Regions from separate parts of the Homo sapiens genome. Here region 2 is linked to region 1. The links are contacts of gene promoters, found by promoter capture Hi-C in blood cells and fetal thymus (Javierre and others, 2016). All regions are on one chromosome and are shown on one strand. Each heading gives the region's core, a stretch centred on a gene start or on the middle of the fragment in contact. The rest is flanking DNA. Distances are from core to core; before and after follow the strand shown. Region 1 holds the start of VSTM5 (V-set and transmembrane domain containing 5). Region 2 overlaps MRE11 (MRE11 double strand break repair nuclease).

Region 1 (5,890 bases), core at 1,330-3,829:
CCTAAATCCCCTCCTCCAAATACCATCACATTGGAGGTTAGGGCTTGAATATATGAATCTTGGGAGGACCCATACATTTGTAGGGGAAAGGTTTCAAAAGCAGGGTGTTTGGCATGCTTTAACTCAGACTTCAGGGTAAATAGTGAATATCAGAGGTTCTGGATGAAGCTTTTGACACAGGCAGAAGAGGTAGAGCATGCAGGGAACTGGTAGGAAGGAGGAGGCCTACTCTTCATCATTATGACTGGCTCCAAAGCACAGGCTTCATTCAGGCAGGCACACATTCATTTAACGTCTTTTAAGGGCGCAGGCCCTGGCTAGCACTGGGCAAGTGCTAGGGACCCTGAGTTGAAACAGAGTGCTTGCCCTCCTGGAGCTTACTGCTGTCCATGAGACAGGTCTCAATGGAAAACTGCAAACTTTTACCTGGCCTCCAGGTTTTGCATGTGCCATTTTGTCTGGTACACCCTGCATTCCCTTTGTCCTGTCCCCCGAGCTGCTCCTACCCATCTGGCAGGTATGGGCAGGTGGGGCTGTTTTGGGGAAGTTTCCTCAAGTCTGGATTCTGAGACGCTAGGGCTTCTAGAACATGGCACCTCTTGCCTCTCAAGGCTTGCCATTGCAAGGCTGCCCCTCTTGTTTGCATGTCTGTCTTCTCCATGACACCTGAGCTTCCTGAGAACGAAACAGTGAACCACCATATCCTAGGTACCCACTGTGGCCTGCTTCCTGCAGGGAGAGGGTACAGTCAATGAGTGAGTGAATGAATGAATTATACGCTATTGCAAATGGCTGGTCCCTGAGCATGAGGGGTATCTGAACAGATGTGTAAGTATGGTGATTAGAAACAAGTGATAAAGGTTTGAGAAATAATATAAAAAGCCACTGCAATGACAAACACACCCATCCACCTGCTCGAGACTAACAACCAACTGTTTTCTTGATCCATAGCTGCCAGAGGAACATGCCTCTGTCTTACTGGGTTTCTGAGATTTGCAACCTCTGCAGCTGGGTTCTAGCCAGAGAGGTGTAAAGGTCAAAAATGTTAGATCGTTCAGTCACCTTGTATAAGTTAACATAATATTATTTTTTCTCTCTCTCTCTTCTTTTCTTTTTCTTTCGCTTTGGAGAAGGTCTCATTCTGTTCCCCAGGCTAGAGTGCAGTGGCACAATCAGGGCTCACTGAAGCCTCAATCTCCTGGGCTTAAGTGATCCTTTCACCTCAGCTCCCCCGCCGCCCACCCCAGTAGCTGGGCCTACAGGCACAGGCCACCACACCCAGCTAATTTTTTCATATTTTTACTACAGACAGTTTGCCATGTTGCCCAGGCTGGTCTTGAACTCCTGGACTCAAGGGATCCGCTGGCCTCGGCCTCCCAAAATGCTGGGAATACAGGCATGAGCCCCTGCGATTGGCTTATAACATTTCTGTGCCTCAGTTTCCTCACTTGTGAAACAGGAATAAGAGTAGTTTATTAGGGTTGCCCTAAGGACTAAATGAGAGAGGTCTTGTAAAGTCTGAGGGATGGTGAATGCATAAATGCTTAATAAGTGCTGGCTCTTACTACAAGGCCTCTCACCTCCAGCGGCCCTGCTCTGTCATTCTCTAAACCTCAGTTGGCCCATGTGTAAGATGGGAGTGCGAATGGTAATGATTAAATGAGAAAGTAAAACTGTGCTAAGATCTGTTGTTTGTGTCCAAGAGAGCCTCTGGGACTACGCTTCGCATCCAGGCTCACCAGGCTGGGGATTCCGGGTCCGGCCATCCAAAGCAAATCTACTCAGTGCGCTGGTCGCGAGGACCACCTCCAGCCTGGGGACTTCAGGCCACAACGCCCAACCCAAACCCCAGAACCGTTTTTCTCACGGGAGCAGGCTGCTGTGGGTTCGTCTGACTGATAAGGAGGCCTGATTATTCTCCTGGGAGATGACCAGGAAGGCCATGGAGGGGTCCCCACAGTAGGGGGCGGCGCACGGACTGCAATCTGGTTATTCCAGGAAAAAGAAATAAAAAATGTTGCAGAGGCGGCGGCCACAGGGCTGGGAGCCGGTTATCTCTGGGCCACCTTCCAGCTCTGATAACCGTAGGCCGGGCTCGCCGGGTGGGGCGGGCGCCCCGAAGTGGGCCGGGGCGCCGCGGCCGGTAGCCTCTGCTTTGCCCAGCCCCTCCCGCTACGGTCGGCGCCGGGTCTCCAGGCCTCGCCCAGCCCCACGAGGAAGCGGCGCGGTGCCTGCCAGCCGAGCTCACCGCGCGCCCTCAGCCGGACAAGGTGGGCGAGGGCCAGGGGGGCCGCTGCTAGACCCCGGGGCCCCGCCCGTGCCCCCCTACCCATTCCCGCTCCCCCAGCACCCGGGGCGTCCCCCGGAGCTTACTCTGCAGACAGCGGGCTGCGGCCAGGCAGAGGGCGAAGAGTCCTAGGGAGATGCCTCGGGTCTTCCTCCTCCCGCTGGGCAGAGGCCTCATGGGCGAGCCCGGGGCCTCGCGGGCCGGGGTGTGTGCTGGCCGCACCGCGCTGCAGCTCCTATGCAGCCTTCTCTCTTCCTCCGCCTCTGGCTGCCGCAGGTTCTTTAGGGCCAGATGCAGATGAGCTGGTTGTACTCTGGTTGAACCAGTTCCCAAGGATGGGGGGGCGGGGGGGGGGGGGTGTTGCGCGGGAGAGAATTAATATGGGAAGGAATGGGAATGCACAGACTCAGAGGTAAATAATGGCAAATAATGAGCAGCCTCCTTCCGTTCACACCCATTTTACTGGTATTGATTCAAGGTTCGGCTGGATGCTAGGTGGCAGGAAGGAGGGAAAGTACTAGCTATTGCTTCAGGACAGAGCTAGTCATTGGCATCATGGGCAAAGGGAAGGCTTTTAGGAAAGTGAAATGACAGCCTGGAGTGAGAGGGATGAGGGGAGGGGGTGGGGAGACTCAGGCTGCCCTGATGGGAACCACTGCACAGTGATGATATCCATCCATCTATCCACCCATCAGTCCATCCATCCATCCCTCCATCCATCCAGGAAATGTTCACCAATCGCCTGCTTTATTTGCACAGAGCCTCGCACATGGCAGTCACTCAAATAAACCGGTGGAATGAAGCTAGGCACTGTGTTAAGTGCTGGGGATACAAGGATGTGGGCACCTGTTTAGAAATCCTAGCAAGGGGTGGGGGCTGCAAAAAATGAGCAACCGCTAGGCCGAGGCGGGCGGATCACGAGTTCAGGAGATCGAGACCATCTTGGCTAACACAGTGAAACCCCGTCTCTACTAAAAATACAAAAAAAAAAATTAGCCGGGCGTGGTGGTGGGTGCGTGTAGTCCTAGCTGCTCGGGAGGCTGAGGCAGGAGAATGGCGTGAACCCGGGAGGCAGAGCTTGCAGTGAGCCGAGATAGCGCCACTGCACTGCAGCCTGGGCGACAGAGGGGGACTCCGTCTCAAAAAAAAAAAAAAAAAAAAAAGCAACCGCTGTACAGTGCATATGTCGCTAGGATCAGAGAGGCCCAGCATGCTCTGGGGGCTCAGAGCAAGTGTAATTAGTCTCCAGGAGAGGTCGATGGAGGGGTGGGGCAATCAGTTTTGGTCCAAACTAGTCATGAAATTATATTTCACTTTGTCAAAACTAGAATTTCTAGCCTCACTTGCCACAAGGGGTAGCAGTGTGACCCAGTGCTGGCCAGTGATATTTAAGGGGAAGTCTTTTTGAGGTGTTTCTGGAAAAGTTTTTGCTTTCCTCATAAAAAGGACAGCTAAGGCTGGGACTTCCCCTCCCCCTTTCTTTCTGCCTTGAAAACATTTATTCTGTTCAGATCTGTGGCATGTGTCTTGCATCCATTAAGTTACATAAATGAATGCAAAAACCATCATGCTAAGTAAGGATGGTGGAGCAGGAAGATAGAAAGACCTAGAAGGGCCGGGTGTGATGGCTCACACCTGTGATCCCAGCACTTTGGGAGGCCGAGGCAGGTGGATTGCATGAGCCCAGGAGTTTGAGGCCAGCCTGGACAACATACTGAGACCCCATCTCTACAAAAAAAATATAAAAATTAGCCTGGGCATGGTGGCCCACGTCTGTAGTACTAGCTACTTGGGAGGCTGAGGCAGGAAGATCACTAGAGCCCAGGAGGCAGAGGTTGTAGTAAGCCATGAATGTACCACTGCACTCCAGCCTGGGTGACAGAATGAGACCCTGTTTAAAAAAAAAGATAGGAAGGAAGACATAGAAGACATCGTAATCCACTGTACTTTCCTATCTCCTTCTGGTTTCTAAAGGAGATTTCTTGCCAATTCCGATGTGTTCCTGGTGAGGCCGACACTAGTGTTACCCTGCTGACTGGCTTGGGGTGGGCTTGTCAACCATGCTGTCCATTTGAAGTACCCTCTCTGCCAACCAAAGTATTTGGTTCAAGAATGGGCAGACAGGGCCATCAGCGTCTTCCCTGGAAATGTGTGGCCACTGCTGGCATACTAAAAATGGGATATGAACCTGGGGGTACTGGTGGACCATCTTGTCTGTCATGTGGAGAGGCCCTGGATTAAGAATGAAACCAAGATGAGACAAACTGAGTGGGGAACTGAGGAAAGGGATAAAGGCCTAACTACACGGGTTGGGCTCTGGGATTCTGCATGGTTGGGTTTGCCATTTATCAGCAAATAAATGCCCTCTTTGACTCAGCAAATTTAAGTTGGATTTTTATGATATAAAATTGAGAATGCCCTGCTAAAGCAAGCAGTCTTCTTGACATTTTTCTGTTTTCTTTATTAGATGTAAAAGCCTTCAGGAATTACTTGCATTCATTTGTTTATCCATCAAACATCAAATCTGCCCCCATATCAGGCAATGTGCTAGGCACTGCAGCTCCAAAGATGAATAATAACTCATGATTCCTAGTCTCAAAATACTCACAAACTAGTGGAGACAAAATGATTCAAGTTGGGAAAGGCTTCCAGACACAGAGGTCTCTCCTGCTAAGGCTAAGTTGAGAGGAAACTGGCTGTTCTGCTTACTGCTGTGAACCCTGGAAATCTGAGACAGGTCTCAATTTAGAAAGTTTATTTTGCCAAGATTGAGGATGTGTGTCTGTGACACAGCCTCAGGAGGTCCTGAACACATGTGCCCAAGGTGGTCAGAGCACAGCTTGGTTTTAAACATTTTAGGGAGACATGAGATATCAATCAACATATGCAAGATGAACATCGGTTCTGCCTGGAGAGGCAGGTCAACTTGAAGCAAACGTGGGAAGACTCGATGCAGGAAGGGGTGTTCCAGGTCATAGATGGCTAAGAGACAAATGGTTGCATTCTCTTGAGTTTCTGATTAGCCTCTTCAAAGGAGGTAATCAGATATGCATTTATCTCAGTGAGCAGAGAGATGAATTTGAATAGAATGGGAGGCAGGTTTGCCCTAAGCAGTTCCCAGTTTGACTTTTTCCTTTAATTTAGTGATTTGGGGGCCCCAAGAATTTTTTTCCTTTCACTTTTCCCCCCTTTTCTTTTTAAAAATTTTTTTGAGAAAGCACTTTAGAAGAAACCGAGTCTCTGGGCTCAGATTTCATTGGATCTCTCATGGCTTAGAATGGTTTATTCGTAGACAGGTAGGTGCCAAGTTATTAGGAAAGCTCATTATTAGCATGTTGTGAAGTCTCATGTCCTATGAAGAGAAAATAGGGGGAGGAAGGGAGAAAAGCAGCAAACTAAAAAATAATTCTGAAAAATTGATATAGGCCACATTATACTGTGTAGACAAGGATGAGGCCAGTTTTCCCAAGGGCTTTCATTGGCTCCATCAGTCAAGTTTGATTCCTTAAAGGAAAGCACACCATTCCAGTCAAAGCCTTGGCAAAATAACCAGTTTCTCCAATTTTGTCCTGTTACAAATGAAAACAGATTCTTACTGCACTT
Region 2 (5,890 bases), core at 2,449-4,948, 600 kb after region 1:
TGGAAGTGTTCATTATTTTATTCACTCTTTTTCTATGTTCCTGTTTTCTCATTTTTAAAAGAACACTTGATAAATGCCTACTGTGCCAGGCTTTTTGATCATTTAATCTTCAGAATAACCCAATACAATAGAGATTATTATTTCCAATCATATCTAAACAAACTAGGAGAGTGACTGATTTGTCTCAAGTCACAAAGCTGTCATTTGTTGAATGCAAGGTTGAACTCAGCATGAATCCTTTACAATTTTCCAGGCTGCCTTTTCTCTCTTTCTTCCTCTCTGCTTTTATATTAAACCTACCAAGAATGGAACAGCATCTTTCCAGATACCACTCCCTAAATGGCAATAAAGACAACATGTTTGTGAAGCAAAAAGCTAAGGATCTTAGCTAGCTCTTCTGAAGTACTAAATAATACTTGAGTAAAAATATAGCAATGGAATTTTTTGTAAGGTTTAAGAGTCATTTAATCAACCTGATTTTGTATCTTTTCTTCAATGTCAGCTGTCATTTGATAAATGTTGAAAATTCCTTTAATGGAGTGATACTTACTTCCAAGGCAAATTAGTCCATCTTTATATTAATTACATAGGTTATTCTGCATAATGCAAAAATTATTCTATGGAGAACTAGTAGCTAGGTCTCTAATCTTACCTTGCTCTGGAAACTAGTACAGTGGTCAACTACTGGTTGTAGAGTGCAGAGAATGTGAGATCATTCCCAGATCTGGTACTGACAAGTTATGAGATCTAGGATAAGCTACCTATCTTTTTAAAGCCTGTTTCCTTTTCTGTAAAACAGAAATAATATAGTAAGTACCTACCCCACAGACCTGTTAAGAGGCATGCAGTTTCATAAATATTAGCTATTATTGCTACTATTAGTGGTTTTATCAACTCAGGGCAAAACTGCTTGGCTTAGTTCCCTCACATATAAAACAGGGGAACAAAGTTGTTCTTAAATCTTCCAGGTCCATTCTATCAGATGAGAAACTTAAATCAGTATGTTTCTAGCTATTCCCATCCATCCCCATTGGGCCAGGAGTTCTTAAGCTGGAAAACACGAATGCGCCTCATGGGAGTGGCTGAACCCTTTGAAATTGGGTGCAATTGCATGTGAGTACTTATTTAAGGAGAGAAGACATAGCTTTCATCAGATTTTTAGAGAATCCATAAGCCAAAATAGATTAAAAAGCATTGCCTTTGGGACTAAACAGATCAAATCTATTCATTCCACATTTTACACGATAGAACATAATCTACATAAAGATCTGAATGTTTCCCAGGTTAGATATCCTAAATCCTAAGTTCCTTCAACCAATTTTTTTTTTTTTTTTTTTTTGGAGACGCTCCGTCACCCAGTTCAGTGGCATGATCTCGGCTCACTGCAACCTCCACCTTCTCGGTTCAAGTATTCTCCTGCCTCAGCCTCCCAAGTAGCTGGGACTACAGGTGCACGCCGCCCTGCCTGGATAATTTTTTGTATTTTCAGTAGGGGACAGGGTTTCACCTTGTTGCCCAGACTGGTTTCGATCTCCTGAGCTCAGGCAATCCGCCCGCCTCAGCCTCCCAAAGTGGTAGGATTATAGGCATGAGCCACTGCGCCTGGCCAACCATTTTTTATATTATTTGGTATCTCTTCTGAATGATCATATATAGTTGACAGTCTCCTTGAAATATAATTCCAAAGAGGAGTACAGTATCCTTGGCATGTTATGGCCAATTTAGTACACAGAGAGAACTTCCTTGCTGTGCAAGCTTGTCCAACCCACCTCATTTTGTTATTGTTTTTGTTCTGTTTTCGTTCTGTTTTCTTTTGTTTTAGGCTTTTAGCAGCTGAAGCCATGGTTTTTAGTTTCTGTCGCTAGTGATATGAGGAAAAGAAGGATGAGAAAAGGGCTTTACTGGCCCAACCAGAAACAGAAACTAAGAATCCATGACTGTATTCTCTCCCTTGGACACCTCTGCAAGACTCATTAAATGCTGTTTAAAATATCAATAGATTTGGACAGTTGGGTATGCCTGCATAACTCTTACTGACCTAAGTCTTTTTCACCTGGGTTGCTGTTAAACTCACATACCTCTCACAACTCTACTTGTGCAGCTGTCCTTTTGGACATAAATGTGGTTTATATTACCCTTGATAAACTTCATCTTCTGAGAATTAGTTCAGCTCCCCAGTGTGTCAACAATTAATCCTAGCTATAAGATTATAAATATTACAATTATAATATTTAAAAAATATTTATAATTATAAAAGTGAAACAATAACCTCAAATAACTGATAATATAAATAATATACATATGAATATATTCTAAATGCTAGGTAGAAAAAAGTATCACCACCTATCTTAATGCATACTTTTTGTAAATATGACTAACATTTTAGGCTGATCTCATCATCTATAATATTAAAAATAGTTAAACAGATCCCCTTGAGGCCAATTTTTAGACCATAGGATATACACAAATTAATTCCAAGGGCCTAGCCATAATTTCTCTTAAATATAGGTCACATGACTTCTCTATATGGAAAGCAGAGACTGACAGGGCAGTATGGGGGAAGCAAGGAAACAGTAGAGACAGTTCCTCTCTCTTTCGACCACTGTCCATATAGTGACCAACTACTTCACTTTCCTGTTTCCAGGGTCTCTCTGCCAAACAGAAACAGCATTTGTCTGAAAGTAAGAAATTATAAAACATAATTTTTGTTTTGTTTTGTTTTGTTTTTGAGACGGAGTCTCTCTCTGTTGCTAGGGTAGAGTCCAATGGCATGATCTTGGCTCACTGCAACCTCCAGTTCCTGGGTTCAAGTGATTCTCCTGCCTCAGCCTCCCAAGTAGCTGGGACTACAGGCATGTGCCACCACGCCTGGCTGATTTTTGTATTTTTAGTAGAGACCGGGTTTCACCATGTTGGCCAGGCTGGTCTCGATCTCCTGACCTCGTGATCTGCCTGTCTCGGCCTCCCAAAGTGCTGGGATTACAGGTGTGATCCACTGTGCCTGGCCTATAAAACATGATTTTAAAAGCTTACCCTCTTCAGTAACTCTAATGCATAGCAAAGATCTTTTAAAAAATAATTTATCCTGTGATCCTAATTGCCCTTATAACTTCCCAATGATTGCAACACAAATAAGGGCTACCAATGGTGATTACCTTGGTCTTTCTAATGTTGGAATTTATAAATAATCACTTGCAGTCTATACTCACCATCTATAATAGACATATTTCTAGATGCTGACACAGCAGTCTTTGAGTTCCTGCTACGGGTAGAAGTCTCCAGACCAGTGTCTGCTGTTAGAAAAATGAACAGTCAATGTACAAGCCTATCAGCAGCTAAGGTTTATTTCATACAACACTAAAAAATGAAAGCTAAATAAACTTATGTCAAATAGTTTGTCTGTAAAAAGCCAGACATATATATAAGAACAAACATCTAGAGTCTGACCAATTTTCAGAGACTATTCTTTTAGGCCACACTTCAGTTTATCCAATTTAATTTATCCAATTAAAATGTAAGGAAATAGGCTGGACGTGGTAGCTCACGCCTGTAATCCCAGCACTTTGGGAGACAGAGGCGGGAGGATCACTTGAGGTCAAGAGTTCAAGACTAGCCTGGCCAACATGGTGAAACCCCACCTCTACTAAAAATACAAAAATTAACTGGCATGATGATGGGCCCCTGTAATCCCAGCTACCTGGGAGGCTGAGGCAGGAGAATTGCTTGAACCTGGGAGGCGGAAGTTGCAGTGAGCTGAAATCGCACCATTGCACTCCAGCCTGGGCAACAGAGCAAAGACAAGACTCCATCTCAAGAAAAATTAAAAAACAAAAATAAAAATTTTTAAGGAAAAATTTTGTAAATGTAAGAATAGTGAAAATAATCATCATTAAAAGATGAGGATTTCTCTCCCTGGAGATTTTAAACCAAATTAATATTCATTTCACCAGCTTAAAATTCCTATGGATGCATATTTAATAAAAACAATTTTAAAAAATCTTTAGAGATGAACTGACATAATGTGTGAGAAAGTCACTGAGTGACCAATTTCTATTGGCGTGAACTATTCAATGACAATAGTCTCACAGTAAATACAATGTTGACTATGTTAATGACTAGTTTTAGGAATCAAATTGGGGGGCAGTTTTCTTTCTTAAACTGACTTTATAAAGACTACTTGATAAGCATATGTGTATTTGTATCTTATGACAGTAACAAAAATAATAATTGTATGATCTGGAGTTTTCCTCCTGTTGCCAAAGGCTTTTAGCTATTTTCTTTAACAACTCATATTTGCCTATTACTTTGCACATGTGAAAATACATATGACATTAAATGTATCCAAAAGGTACTACGTGACAAACACAGTGAAGCTTTTATAAGGTATGTGCTAAGAACAATTAAAACCCTAAGTGCATGTGGCCATTCAAAATTTATTTAAGTAAAAGGCACATGTCAGAACTGCCTTAAAGACTGTCTTTATATATTATAAAAATAGATTTTTAAAGAACCGTGTTTTAGAAATAAAACTTATAATTCAACTCTGACAAGATCTAATTCTGTATTTTCCACTCAACTGCCAAGTGTGAATGTGCACAGGACTGAACTCAGTGCTCACCTCTTCCTCTTTGAGACCCTCCTCTCGATGCTGAATTCTGCCCTCTTCCACCTCTTCGACCTCTTCCTCGGCCTCTTCCTTTGTTGGTTGCTGCTGAGATGCTATCATCAGAGTCATTAGCCATCTGTTCTGCTAAATCTATACTCATAAGGTCATCAGCACTAAAGGCAGAAGCAGACTCCTCTGACTGAGATCTGAGTGCTCTGGCCCTGGTCATAGCCTAAGAGGGAGAAGAAGGAGAAAGTACACACAATGAGATAACGTACCATCCTAAAAATCATTAATTTAGGCATTGACATGAACTAATCATACTATAAAAACATAAAGGAGGCTGACACAGTGGCTCACGCCTGTAATCTCAGCACTTTGGGAGGCCGAGGCGGGAGGATCACTTGCACCCAAGAGTTTGAGACAAGCCTGGGCAACACAGCGAAACCCCGTCTCTACAAAAAAAAAAAAAAAAAAAAAAAATTAGGCATGGTGGCATGCACCTGTAGTCCCGAGCTACACAGGAGGCTGAGGCAGGAGGATCACTTGAGCCTAGGAGATACAGGCTGCAGTGAGCTATGATCACACCACTGCACTCCAGCCTGGGTGACAAAGAGAGACCCTGTCTCAAAAATAAAAATAAAAACAAAAAATATTTATATATGTGTAAAGGAGAACCTCCCCACCAATCAAATTTAATACTTATTATCTGTCAGACCAATCTACCATACTACCTATAAAATGAGACCCTTTGAAAAGGTTTACCAAGAAAAATAAAATTTTACAGAATCAAAATTTTCAGAACTAGAAGGAATACTGGCAATCATCCCTAATTCAATGCCACATTTGACAGTAACAGACTGTCATCATTTGAGCTACTTTTTAGAATCGGCTCCTAGGAAATAATAAGAAAAAAACTTACAAAAAATAGCCGTTATCTCTGGGCACTAATATTTTAGGGTGCTTTTGTTTTTTGTTCTTGAATATTACATATTTTCTATATTACACTTTTTCTAAAAAATTAGTTTTATAATCAGAAAAAAACATGAGTAACAATCTCTCACAAATATATGGTAAAGAGAATTAAGGGCTGGGCGCAGTGGCTCACACCTGTAATCCCAGCACTTTGGGAGGCCTAGGTGGATGGACTGCTTGAGATCAGGAGTTAGGGACCAGCCTGGGCAACATGGCGAGACCCTGCCTCCACCAAAAATACAAAAAAAAAACACAAAAGAACAAAATTAGCCAGGTGTGATGGCATGCACCTGTAGTCCCAGCTACTTG

Evidence for each region. The method cuts DNA at HindIII sites, captures the fragments that hold promoters and counts their contacts. A CHiCAGO score of 5 or more calls a contact.
Region 2: a fragment that was not itself captured here is called in contact with the fragment with the promoter of VSTM5 in region 1 in 1 of 17 cell types (naive B cells); the score reaches 5.1 in naive B cells.

The regions. Positions count from the first base shown.
Region 1 is chr11:93,848,039-93,853,928 of GRCh38, forward strand. VSTM5 (V-set and transmembrane domain containing 5) reads right to left here and starts at 2,580. Exons shown (of 4, transcript NM_001144871.2): 1 at 2,374-2,580. The coding sequence starts at 2,464. The HindIII fragment of the contact is 13,893 bases long and covers 167-5,890 here.
Region 2 is chr11:94,442,601-94,448,490 of GRCh38, forward strand. MRE11 (MRE11 double strand break repair nuclease) reads right to left here. Exons shown (of 20, transcript NM_005591.4): 15 at 4,619-4,838; 16 at 3,210-3,293. Among named protein-coding and RNA genes, the nearest start is that of MIR548L, 21 kb to the right of the region's middle. The HindIII fragment of the contact is 1,345 bases long and covers 3,027-4,371 here.